Regions from separate parts of the Homo sapiens genome. Here region 2 is linked to region 1. Evidence: promoter capture Hi-C in 16 types of primary human blood cells and fetal thymus (Javierre and others, 2016). All regions are on one chromosome and are shown on one strand. Each heading gives the region's core, a stretch centred on a gene start or on the middle of the fragment in contact. The rest is flanking DNA. Distances are from core to core; before and after follow the strand shown. Region 1 holds the start of ERAP1 (endoplasmic reticulum aminopeptidase 1). Region 2 overlaps CHD1 (chromodomain helicase DNA binding protein 1).

What was found. Contacts are between HindIII fragments. The CHiCAGO score rates a contact against its expected background, and 5 or more counts as called.
Region 2: a contact is called between a fragment that was not itself captured here and the fragment with the promoter of ERAP1 in region 1, in 1 of 17 cell types (fetal thymus). The highest score is 5.1, in fetal thymus.

The regions. Positions count from the first base shown.
Region 1 is chr5:96,806,695-96,813,093 of GRCh38, reverse strand. ERAP1 (endoplasmic reticulum aminopeptidase 1) reads left to right here and starts at 5,149. Exons shown (of 19, transcript NM_001040458.3): 1 at 5,149-5,234. LOC124901033 (a long non-coding RNA gene) reads right to left here and starts at 5,636. Exons shown (of 3, transcript XR_007058879.1): 1 at 4,517-5,636; 2 at 1,080-1,266. RefSeq lists enhancers at 4,469-4,538, 4,695-5,194, 5,195-5,696 and a silencer at 5,269-5,728. The HindIII fragment of the contact is 13,314 bases long and covers 1-6,399 here.
Region 2 is chr5:98,918,781-98,925,179 of GRCh38, reverse strand. All of the region lies in intron 2 of CHD1 (chromodomain helicase DNA binding protein 1), which reads left to right. Among named protein-coding and RNA genes, the nearest start is that of CHD1-DT, 6.6 kb to the left of the region's middle. The HindIII fragment of the contact is 2,275 bases long and covers 2,897-5,171 here.

The DNA.
Region 1 (6,399 bases), core at 3,900-6,399:
AAGGGAGTGTTGTAGGTTTATAGGGGTAAGATAATGTCTCTTTCTTCCACTTCCCACCACTTAGTTCAAACCCATAAGTTTAAATGAGATAAGGAGAACTGTCTCTTAGGAAGGGTTGGGAAAGAAAAAAAAGAAAGGCTGTGGTGGCCTGAAGACCACTTGAGTCATTTCTTCCATAATCACAATCTAATTTTCCAATAAATTGCAAGCATTCCTAGAACCACAGACTTCACTTAAGCCAAACTCTGTCAATTTCACACTGCCATGTATGGATGAGCATAAATGAGTTTCTCTTTTCAGGCCCCAATTGTATATACTTTACAGAACTTCATTGAGAAAGTTATTCGTTTCTTTCCTTTTCTCCTTTGTATCATAGCTCATTTAATTTCAATATAATAAAATCCATTAACCTTCTAGAAACTAAGGTTTTGAAAAGTTATTTTTCCCATGTTTAGTTATTGCAACAGATATTCATTATAGCTAAGGCAAGACAGTTAGTAGCATAACACCATGGTCCCTCAAAAAATAACAATAAACAAATCTACATATTTTTCATCCCAATATTTTTATCATTCCTTTAGGCATATGCAAAGATCATGTTCACTCCTGGCTGGATAATTCATTCTTTCTTTGTGAAATAGCTGTGGCAGAGGGAGCCATAAATAAAATAAAGCCTCCTAAACAAAGGTTTGCTTTAATCTGTTCATATTGACAATATCTAGTAAATTCTGATATTTCAAACAACTCACCATAACGGGTATAGATCTGGGTTTTTAAGAAATTGACATGATTTATCCAGACACATTTGTGGGTTTTCTTTGAAATAGTAGAGCTTTACTGACTATGACACTTTGCATTTTAAAGAAATTTCATTGCTTTCTCTTGTGTGTCATAGATAATTTTTATATAACTGAATTGTGATTCTCCAGTAGATAAATGGACAAGAAACATAAACATATAATTCTCAAAAGAGAAAACACAAAGCAAAAACGGCTAATTAACATATGTTCAGTGCATATATTCAGTCTCATTAGTGATGAAAGAAATACAAATTTAAGAAATATGTCATGGTGACTTACCTCCTTGTTGACACGAGCAAAGGTAAAAGCAACAGGAATACAGAAGACTGGCTAGAGAGCAGTTAGATGGGCCTGTCACCTACTGAGGAAGGTTGGAGACAGGTGGATTCCCTGGGTTCTGTAAGGCTGCAAGAACTGGAAACATGCTCAGGTTACCTTAGACAGCAGTATCTTGTGAAATAAATGCCTGAGGGAGGGAAAATGGGAAACATGTGATCAGTCCTCGTGGCACCTAGAATGTTCTTCAGGATCCACAATTCTAGAAGTTCAAGGGCAGCTGTGGTCACTCAACTTGCTTGAGTTGTTCCTACAGAATCTGGCATACATTGCTCGCTCCCATAGTGCTCTGTTGTATGGTAATACAGGACTCTCTCTGAAGACTGACTCCAACTGGCTAAATCAAAAAGGAAAGCATTGGTCCTCTTGAATGGAAGGTCTAAGGACAGGATTTGCTCAGGACAGCTGGAGCTGAGGGCTTTAGTGGAGGTATTCTCTGTCTCTGTCAGCCCTGCTGTCCTTTGAACTGGCTTCACTTTAAAGCAGGCTTTTTCCATGTGGTGGCCCCTGGTAGGTCACTTCACATCTCTAATCCTGTTTCCTCATTCTAGAAAAATGGAGCTACTAGCCACCTGCATAAGTACAATGTGAGGATCCCATGAGATAGACTATATGTAAATGCTTTCAAGCTGCCACATTTCAGAGGACTTTATTATTTGATATGAGCTCAGTGGCCTGTTTTGGAACAGTCTTTAACATGGCATCTGTACCGTCTTCCCTGTTTCTGATTATTAATAAGATGGTATTGCTTTTGTTAAGCAAGCCTGCTCTGCAACTTGGCACAGAGGGGGAAAAAAGTCATCCTCTTTATCAAGAATATCAAGAATGAGGGGCATTATTATTTTTTTTTAAATTGGCATTTAAAAAAATTAAGTTCTAAGGCCCTGGGAGCCTATGGAAGAGTCTCAAGGACCACAATGTGTGTGGAAGGGCCGGATAGCAGTGGGCAAGGCTGACTGGGTGGAGCTGCCCTGTTTAATAAGAGCAGGCCTGCTTTTGTCTGTTTTCTACACCATGATTCTGGATGAGATTTTACATCAAAAAGGAGAGTGGTAATATGATTAAAATAGGAGCAGCTTTGGCAGCAAAACAGAAGAAATGAGCCAAACGCTGACATTAATTGACTAAAAGCTAATGAAAGCAGAACTGAATCAATCAATTACAGCAAAATTGAACATCACTTGACAATATCTAGAATTCAATATTTTTTAAGTAGATCAGTAATAGCTCAAAGTGGTATGTATTTCATTGGCCTAGGCCTGAAATTCTCCTCATTCCTCTGGCTCACCTCTGGGACTAAGGACACTGAGAAGCCTCTGCAATGGATGGGCTCAACCGGCCAACCAGCCCTCCTACACTATATGGTATACAATATTAGTGTTTACCAACCCCTCCTTGTTCTGGCCAATGCAATGTGAGTAGAATTAGTGTGTGTTTTCTCTTTGACTCTGAGCAAGTTGCCGACCTGTCTCATTTTTCTCATCTATAAAGCATAATATCTACATTACAGGGTTGCTGAAGAGATCAAATTATAAACACACACATGCACACATAGCTAGCATTTAACAGTATCTAACAGTTGGTAGGGAATCAATAAACCTAGGTACCCTTTCTCTCTGTTCCCTTCCTTCTAACCATTTCTAAGCTCGGTAATGTGCTGTTTTGATCTCACAGGCTCTAGAACTAGGACTCCTTAAAGTCCTTACTCCAAGGTCTGTGTCCTCTACATCCCTGCTAGGGCTTTGAAACTAGAAGTGAATGCTGCCAAATCCTCTGACTTATCGCTCTTTGTAGTGCACTTCAACTCTAAAGACGAAATCACGGCCAGGGCGACAGGCTAAAGTCTGAGTCAGGGTGAGCTTTTGGGGAAACGGCGTGGAGCGGGTGGTGGTGTCAGCTCTCTCCTCGCCTACACTTCAGCTCCTTTCTGCCCACATCCATTCAGGGCATTGCCCTGTTTGTCTCCTCAGCTGTCTTCTGTATTAACCTCCAGCCTGTTGGGTGCATTCAGTTCTGCCAGCTGGACTTTCAATATGTATTTAAAAAGACACATAAACAAAAAACAAAAACAAAAACAAAAAAACTTTACTAGAAGCCAAAGGAAAACCATCATATTCAAAAATATAAATATAAAAGCAAAGAAATGCATACATTTACTGGACAAAGAGGTCTCATCTTGAGTAAACTGGGAGCACTCCGAGATGTCTGGAGGTCTTGGAGGCTACACGCTATCCATTGATACCTCCTGTCAAATTCTGAACATGCAGAAATTACCAGATCTCAAAGTCCTCATTTCTTGTTGAATTTTAGTGAAAAAAACTTCCCTGGATCCCACCGTAGTTGAGTCTTGGAACAGGGTGTTAATCTTTATATTATAAAATGTCCTTGACTAGAGATAATAGGCAGTATGAAACATTATATTTTTAAAAAGGAAACATAATATTGAAAAAAAAAGAGAAATACTGTTGCAGTGACTTGGAATCCCCAGTTCTCAAAGGGAAGAAGGCCAATAAAGAAGTGGGAGAAGAAAGTCTGAGAACCGCATGAAAAGGGTCCTGTTCCCACTAGGACCATGGTCCACTCACCAAATTATCAGAGACGTTTGAACCAGAGCAACTCCATCTTGAATAGGAGCTGGGTAAAATAAGGCTGAGACCTACTGGGCTACACTCCCAGGAGGTTAGACATTCTAAGTCACAGAATGAGATAGAAGGTAGGCACAAGACACAGGTCATAAAGACCTTGCTGATAAAACAGGTTGCAGTAAGGAAGCTGGCCAAAACCCACCAAAACCAGGATGGCAATGAGAGTGTCCTCTGGTCGTCACTGCTACGGTCTCACCAGCTCCATGACAGTTTACAAATGCCACTGCAACGTCGGGAAGCTACCCTATATGGTCTAAAAAGGGGAGGCATGAATAATTTCCCCCGCTTAGCATATAATCAAGAAATAACCCTAAAAATGGACAACCAACAGCCCTTGGGGGTGCTCTGCCTATGAGTAGCCATTCTTTTATTCCTTTAGTTTCTTAATTACTTGCTTTCACTTTACTCCATGGACTCCCCTCAAATTCTTTCTTGCGCAAAATCCAAGAACCCTCTCTTGGGGTCTGGATCGGGACCCATTTTCGGTAATAAACTTGTAGCATTTGGTGTTTTAATGTTTGTGTTTTCTTGACTTGTTACCTCATTTAGCCTCAACTGTTTAAAGATGGTCTTTTTGGCCATTTTATTCAGCTTTAATTGTTCTAAGGGGAGTGAAGAAATGGTCATTTACTTTGAAAAATCAGAGGGAACGTGTTGATGCGGGAAGCAGCTAATCCTTGGGGTACAGTGGCCCTTGGTAGTGCAGGAAAGTCCTGGGGGCCACCTCTAACCCACCTTCCTCCTCTACAGCATCTCCCACTGTAGTCATTCTCTACCGAAGCCCCAGAAGGTGCGGCACTTTGCCACGACAGAGTACTGGGTTCATGTTTCTTTCCGAGGCGGGCCAAGAGCTCTCAGCCCACTGGCAGTGGCGAGATGACGGACACCCAGCGAGTCCAATGGGCGTCGAACGCGTCTAGGCTTGGTGGACTTGTCAGCGCCTGCCTGGCTTCGGTCCCCAACTTGAGCACCGGCCCTTTCCTGCATGCCCCTAACCCTCGCAACGCTAAACAGTGAAAAAAAAAAAAAGACAAAAACAAAAAGCATCTCAACACACACACACACACACACACACACACACACACACACACACACACACACACACACACACACACACACACACACGGATCCGCGTTCAGAAAGGCGTGCACTTCCTACGCCTGATCCCCCGCATCGCAACCTCGCAGCTTCCCCGGCGTGCAGCGCTCATTTACCAATTCCCTTCCTGGGAGTTGCGGCTTCCCTCGCTCGGCCCCACTCCCGTTTACCCTTTCCCCAGCTCCCGCCTTAGCCAGGGGCTTCCCCGCCTGCCGCTAGGGCTCGGGCCGAAGCGCCGCTCAGCGCCAGCCTGCCGCTCCCCGGGCTCCACTTTCACTTTCGGTCCTGGGGGAGCTAGGCCGGCGGCAGTGGTGGTGGCGGCGGCGCAAGGGTGAGGGCGGCCCCAGAACCCCAGGTACAGCGCGCTCGAGCCGCGGGTAGGGGACTGCGGGCCGGGAGGAGAGCGCGGCACCCGCCCCTTCCCTGCGCCCGTCAAGTGGGGGGCTGAGGGCCTGGGGCACGGGAGGAGGGAGACGGGGCACGGGAGGAGGGAGACGGGGCGCGGGAGGAAGGCGACGGGGCGCGGGAGGAAGGCGACGGGGCGCGAGACAGGGCGCGGGAAGGGCGGGGGGAGTCGCTGGCTAGGCCCGAGTCCGCGGGGTGCCCGGCGGGTTGGCGGCGGGCCCACCCCTGCCGGTCCCTGTCCCTGTCCCTCCGGGCGCGTGGCCGGTGCGCCTGCTTCACGGGTCTCCCCGCTGTTCGGCCGGCGGGAGCCTCCCTCAGCGCTCCGCCTGGCGCCTGGATGCCTGCCAGTCCTGCAGGCCACCGACGCCCGCGCGAGGCCAAAAGGCGGGGTGGGGCGGGCAGCTGGCTCGGGCTGAGGAGGGCACCTGCCCATAGCTGCTAGAGAAACCCAGAGGCTTTGGGTTAAAGACTCTGGTGGGGTGGGATGCGCGGGCCGTGTGTGTTCTTAAGGTCACTTCCCTCCCTGCTTCTCCTGTTCTTCTGGTCAGCAATTCTCTCTCTCCCCTTCGCTCTGGCTCTGGCTGGGTTTTATTCAGATAAAGCACCTCTGTTGACGCAAATTAAAAGTTTCCTATCTGGGTGCCTCACTGGCCAGGTGGTCCTACAAAGTTAATTCCATGAGGGGAAGGGGGAGAGCACACACTTCCTCACGCTTTTGGATTTCTTTGTGTAGGCTAGGTTCAGAAAGAAATTATCTGTTTCCTATTAAACACCCAGAGGATTCGCTCTGAACTCAGGACGTGGTCAACAATTAACAAAACAACAAAACAAAACAAAACAAAACAAAAAACTTGAAAATTGGGCACAGTTGTCTCTTGCCTGAGGATTTTTAATTAGTATAAGTAGCACATTTTCAGGTGCGGCCTGAATAGAAACATTCTAGTACTTTTTTTTTTTTCAAATTAATCCAGCATTTTTATTATTTACCAACAGTGCTTGTTAATTTCATTGTTCAGGAAATTCTGGAAGAACCTCAATTACTTCTTGATGATCTATTTCATATACTATAGTGCCCCAATAAAAGGAAGGGAGGCAGAGGTTGCAGTGAGCCAAGA
Region 2 (6,399 bases), core at 2,785-5,284, 2.1 Mb before region 1:
TATTGTAACCAGCATGTTTTGTGTAACACAGGATACTATATAAAAAAAACATTAATTACAGTGATGGAGACATGGGGGTGGACAAGAAACAGGAAAGTTTTGGCAATTAGGAAGATTAAGAAAAAATGTTAGATAGAAAACTAAATAGTGGTATTTGTATTTGATCTGAAACTTGGACTTTTCTTTTTCTTTTTTTTTTTTTGAGACAGAGTCTTGCTCTGTCGCCCAGGCTGGAGTGCAGTGGTGTGATCCCGGCTCACTGCAACCTCCACCTCCCAGGCTCAAGTGTTTCTCCTACCTCAGCCTCCGGAGTAGCTGGGATTACAGGCGCTAGCCACCACTCCCAGCTAATTTTTGTATTTTTTTTGTAGAGATGGGGTTTCGCCACATTGGCCAGGCTGGTCTCGAACTCCTGGCCTCAAGTGATCCACCTGCCTCGAGCTCCCAAAGTGCTGAGATTATAGGCATGAGCCACCACGCCAGGCCTGACACTTGGAATTTTCTGACCTTGCTAGTTATACTTTAGTTTATCAGCTTTCATACATACTGTTTGGATAAGCAAGAACATCATAGAGAATAAAATAAGGAACAGTTATGGAAAGCAGCATTATTACTTGAACAAGTATTGGTCTAGGAGTTATACAACCTGAGTTGATGCTATCTCTGCATTAATTAAAACTCATATGATTGCCTCAACTCTAAGGATTGAACTGATATTGAAGTTTCATTTTAATTAATTACAAAGTGCATCGTAAAGTTTCAAACAGTAAAGTTTTACTAGAATCACCAGAGTTGAGGTTTAATTAAAAGACTTTTGAATCTGAGCTTTGATTCAAATCTCTATAGGTATGTTGACTACTGACTATAGTTAAGTAAATAGAAGAGTCATATTGTCCACCCACAATTTTTTTTTTCTTTTCTTTTCTTTTGAGACAGGGCCTCACTCTGTCACCCAGGCTGGAGTACAGTTGTGTAGTCTCAGCTCACTGCAGCCTCTGCCTCCACCTCCTGGGCTCAAACGATTCTCCCACCTCAGCATCCTGAAAGGCGTGCATGCCACCACACTCAGCTAATTTTAAAATTTTTTGTAGAGATGAGGTCTCACCATATTGCCTCAGCTGGTCTTGAACTCATGGGCTCAAGCAGTCCTCCCACCTTGGCCTCCCAAAGTGTTGGGATTACAGGTGTGAGCTGCCACACCCGGCCTCACATTTTCTTATTCATAGTTGGAATGGAATGGTTAGTAGGTAGAAATACCTAGAGGAAACAAAGGAACCAAACTATTCATAAAATAGGAGATAAGACTCGAGAGTAAATCTTCTAGTTGGATATGCAGACAGATCATGTGCTGGTATATTCTGACTACTTACCTGTTCCAATATTTTATATATTTTTCTGCCATATCTAAAGCGAGGAGGAGTAATAAGTCCAATTTGATACTACAGGTGAAAAAAAATTAAACCTTGTGGCCGGGTGCGGTGGCTTACGCCTGTAATCCCAGCACTTTGGGAGGCCGAGCAGGCAGATCACCTGAGGTTGGGAGTTCGAGACCACCTTGACCAACATGGAGAAATCCTGTCTCTACCAAAAATACAAAATGAGCTGGGTGTGGTGGCCTGTAATCCCAGCTGCTCGCGAGGCTGAGGCAGGAGAATTGCTTGAACCCAGGAGGCAGACGGAGGTTGCAGTGAGCCGGAGATTGCGCGATTGCACTCCAGCCTGGGAAACAAGTGAAACTCCGTCTCAAAAAAAAAAAAAAAATTAAACCTTGCGAAATCAAATTTAAGGAATCTTTTACAATGCATACTCATCTTAAATAATTGCAAAGCATATTTCTTTAATTATTCGGAGTTGTTAATTCTGCTATACAGGTTTTGTGTGCTTCTGAAAAGTGTGGTTATCAAGTTATCTAGTTTTTACAACTGCCTTGGAGTTTATCAGGAGAGAGACCTTCTTTTTTGCCTTCATTTTCTTTCTTACCGCTGCTATACTATGCTCTACTGTCATTAACACTCAATTCCCACTCCCTTCCCCAGAAGCTTTTGTCATAAGACATTACAAAGAAGGGAGATTGTGCCTAGTTAAAAGACTGAGGAGGTGAACTTTAGAGGTAGAGGGATTTTCTTGCAAAAAAAACTAAAGTTTCTATAACTATGAATATTAATATAGAGTAATTTTTTTTCTTTTTTTTGAGCCAGAGTCTTGCTCTGTCGCCCAGGCTGCAGTGCAGCGGTATGACCTCGGCTCACTGCATCCTCCGCCTACCGAGTTCAAGCAATTTTCCTGCCTCAGCCTCCCGAGTAGCTGGGACTACAGGCATGCACCACTGCATCCAGCTAATTTTTGTATTTTTAGCAGAGACGGTGTTTCGTCATGTTGGCCAGGCTGGTCTCGAACTCCTGACCTCAGGTGATCTGCCCGCCTTGGCCTCCCAAAGCACTGGGGATTACAGGCATGAGCCACCGTGCCTGGCCCCTAATATAATTAGATTAGAAATATACTTTGTTTCTAAAGTTGATATTCATTGTAAGTAGCTTTTTAAAGTAAATTTTGGTTTTTTAGTGGCTAGAATTCTATAATGTATTTTTGCTTCAAAATTTCCTTTTTCTTTTGTGAAAGTTTATTAAACGGAATAGAATTAAGAAAGAATTCATTTGGCATTTGCAGGTTACAGTTAGCTTTCTACTGAAAAAAAAAATTTTTAACTATTCTTTCTGTCTGGAGATCTCTCTATAACTATTCACTGAAAGGAAGAAGAATACACAGGAAAAATATGTCTCTTTTGCTATGCTATTGCTGACAGTCTTGAAATTTAGTTACTAAGAAATGTGGGCCAGGATGCACCTGTATAACAGTTACAGCTCAACACAAAGTTTTATGTAACTGAAGTTAAGCTTTTTAAAGATAATGCTGGAAGATTTCAAAGCATCAATTTGCAGCTGTGTGGATTTGTGGTGGTATTTGCAAGCAAATTTTTCAAATCCTGGTAGACTTTTTTTTAGTGTGTGTGTGGTTTGTTTTTTTTTAATTGAGATGGAGTCTCACTGTTGCCCAGGCTGGAGTGCAGTAGCACGATCTTGGCTCACTGCAGCCTCCGTCTCCTGTGTTCTGGCAGTTTTCTGCCTCTGCCTCCTGAGTAGCTGGGATTATAGGTGCCCGCCACCATGCCCCGCTAATTTTTGTATTTTTAGTAAAGATGGGATTTCACCATGTTGGCCAGGCTGGTGGTCTTGAACTCCTGACCTTGTGATCCACCCACCTCGGCCTCCCAAAGTGCTGGGATTACAGGCATGAGCCACTGCGCCTGGCTGACTTTTTTTAGTTTTAAATAAGTTATCTTGAGTGATGATTTACTTCAGGAATGGCTATATGGTTAAAGATCAGAATGGTGTATGAGTTACCTTTCAAAGATTACTTTTCTGTATGTAGTCATAATGTGTGGGCAAACATTAATGTGATGTTACCCCTTTTACTCTGCTTAAGTAGCTGCTTGTTTAAGATCTTGATGACTGATTGGTTATATATGGTGCAGTTTTGTGTTTTAAAATGAGTATTACTTTATGATGAATGGAGAAAATGTTTAACCTTTTTTTAAAATGGGAAATATTTAAAACTACAGAAATAGAAAAGTTGCACCAGTTGTGGTCCGTGGACCAGCGGTGTTGGCATCATTTGGGAGCTTATTATAACTGTAGAACCTTGTGCCTCGCCCCAGACGTACTGAATCAGAATCTTCATTTTAACAAGATTCTAAGTGATTCTTATGTATTAAGTTCATATACATTTATATGAAGCTATTCATCTGGAGTCATAGCATCTTGCCACTTTGTTATTGATGTTGTTATACATGGTTTTCATTCTCTGCGAACCTCCAATTAATTGTGTCTTGAGCAGGACTAGCAAGAGGCTAGGTAAGTTTCGTTTCTCCGGAAGCAGTAACAATGGCAACTGATGATTGTTGAGCTCTTGCTGTGCCTTAACCTAGCATGATGCACATAGGGCATTGTGCATTACTTGAATTGTCACAGTTCATCCTCACAAAACTTCTGTGATGTATACATTGTTATGATTCCCACTTTCCAGATGGGGAAACAAGATTTATAGCCATTTTATTTATTTTTTTATTCTTTTTTAAAAAACTATTACCTAAACTCTATACTTGGATTTCATTGATTTTTCCATTAACTCCCTCTTTTCTGTTGTAGGATTAAATCCAGAGTGCCACATTGCATTTAGTTGTCACGTCTCCCCAGTCTCCTTTCATCTGTGAGAGTTTCTAAGTCTTTCCTTAGTTTTCATGGTCTAAACCATCTTGAGAAATACTGGCCAGGTATCCTGTAGAATGTTTTTGAAATCTAGATTTGTCTTTTTTTTTTTTTTTTTGAGACGGCGTCTTGCTCTGTTGCCCAGGCTGGAGTGCAATGGCACGATCTCACCTCACTGCAACCTCCGCCTCCTGGGTTCAAACGATTCTCCTGCCACAGCCTCCCGAGTGACTGGGACTACAGGTGTGCACCACCATGCCTGGCTAATTTTTGTATTTTTAGTAGAGACAGGGTTTCTCTGTGTTGGTCAGGCTGATCTTGAACTCTTGACCTCAGGTAATCCACCCACCTTGGCCTCCCAGAGTGTTGGGATTACAGGTGTGTGAGCCACCACACCTGGCCTTGTCTATTGTTCTTAGGATAAACTAGGGTTATTGGTTTTTAGAAAGAATACCACAAAGATAAAGTGTGCTAGTCACATCATATGGGAAACATGTTATCCTCATGACATTACTGGTGGTGTTAACCTCTCACTTGGTCAAGGTAGTATTTGCAAGTTTCTCTACTGTAAAGTTACTGTTTTTCCCTTTCCATAATATATTCTTTGGAAGCAAGTCATTTTGTCTAGCCTACTTTCAAGAGGGTTGGGATAGGAATTAAATTCCATCTCCTGGTGGGGGGAGTATTTACATATATTAAATGGAATTTCTGTAAGGAAATTTCTAAATCGTTTATATATGTATGGATTTATGTATGTGCTTTGAGTTGTAATCCAGCTTAGTGGATTACAACTCTATAAAATATATATTTGTATATATTTATGTATAATAGGTATTTTATGTATCTATTGTATAATAGTTGACTTTTTTGTTACTTAAATTGATCTAGCCTTGGCTCTTGGAAGCTTTTTTAGGTTGGCTCGTATGTTTCTTTTACACACTGCCTTACTTTTACCCTAGAATCAGCCACTCTCCAAGGAGCCTTGGTTCCATTTTTTTGGAGAATGGCATTAGAAACCAAGATTTGGGTACTGGGTGTGCTTGTTGATATTCAAGTGTCACTGCTTTTATTTCCTCTCAGTGAACAAAGTAGACAGAGCTAGGTAATATATGTAGATATATTATGTATACCTACGTATCTATAGTCATTTCTGTATCCTTACGTCTGTATACATATTATCTCATACATAAACGTGAGTTCATACCGATGGCTCCAACTCTAATCCTGTGCTATAGGGTTCATTCTAACCTTTCTTTCTTATTGCTTTGTAACTTCCTTACTCAACATTGAGAAACCTGGCTCTGACCATCCACCATTTATCTGCTTATATATTCACTCATAATATACATGTAAAGCAGTTTTAGAATTTTTAGGATATACTTTATCAAGAGAAACTAATTTCGCAACTAAAATACGGTGTTTACATACAGTACACTTTAATATTTAGCCTTTAAGTTTCTAGTCAAAACACTGTTTTCTGATGTTGGTCAAGTTCATTTTTCTCTCACCCCTTTGAGTGTAATTATGTGATAAATTTATAATAAAATTAGATTCATTTGTCACAATCTGCATTCCATCCTGTGATCATCATCATACTGGTTGATTTTTAAAATTTGCATATATTAATGCTTATTCAATGATGCACAGTTCTTTGGGTTTTGACAAGTGCATAGAATCATTTTTTCTGTACTCCAGTAATGTACAGAACAATTCCTTCATCTTAAAAGGTCCCAGATCTACTGAGCCAGAATTTCCATTTTAATAAGATTCCCAGGAGAATTGTATTCATGTTAAATTCATATGCATGTATATGAAGCTATTCACCTGTAGTCATTCAGCATCTTGCCATGTTGTAAAGTTATACATTAACTTCAAGAAAGATTATTATAATCTAGGGGTGATAATGGAATAGCCAGTTTAAATATGCAATTGAGTATATTCAAATTTGTGGGGCCAAATGGGCATGCAAGTGAGGTAAAAAGAAAATGGAGGGTAGATTACTAGAGTCATTTAATGAGCTATTTGGAAAGTTTTCATAGCATGCTTTAACTTTTGTAATTTTCATAATGATGAGAAATGTAGTTTGAAAAGAAAGAACAAATGATATATATTCAGAAGGGTGTTGGAGAGGAAG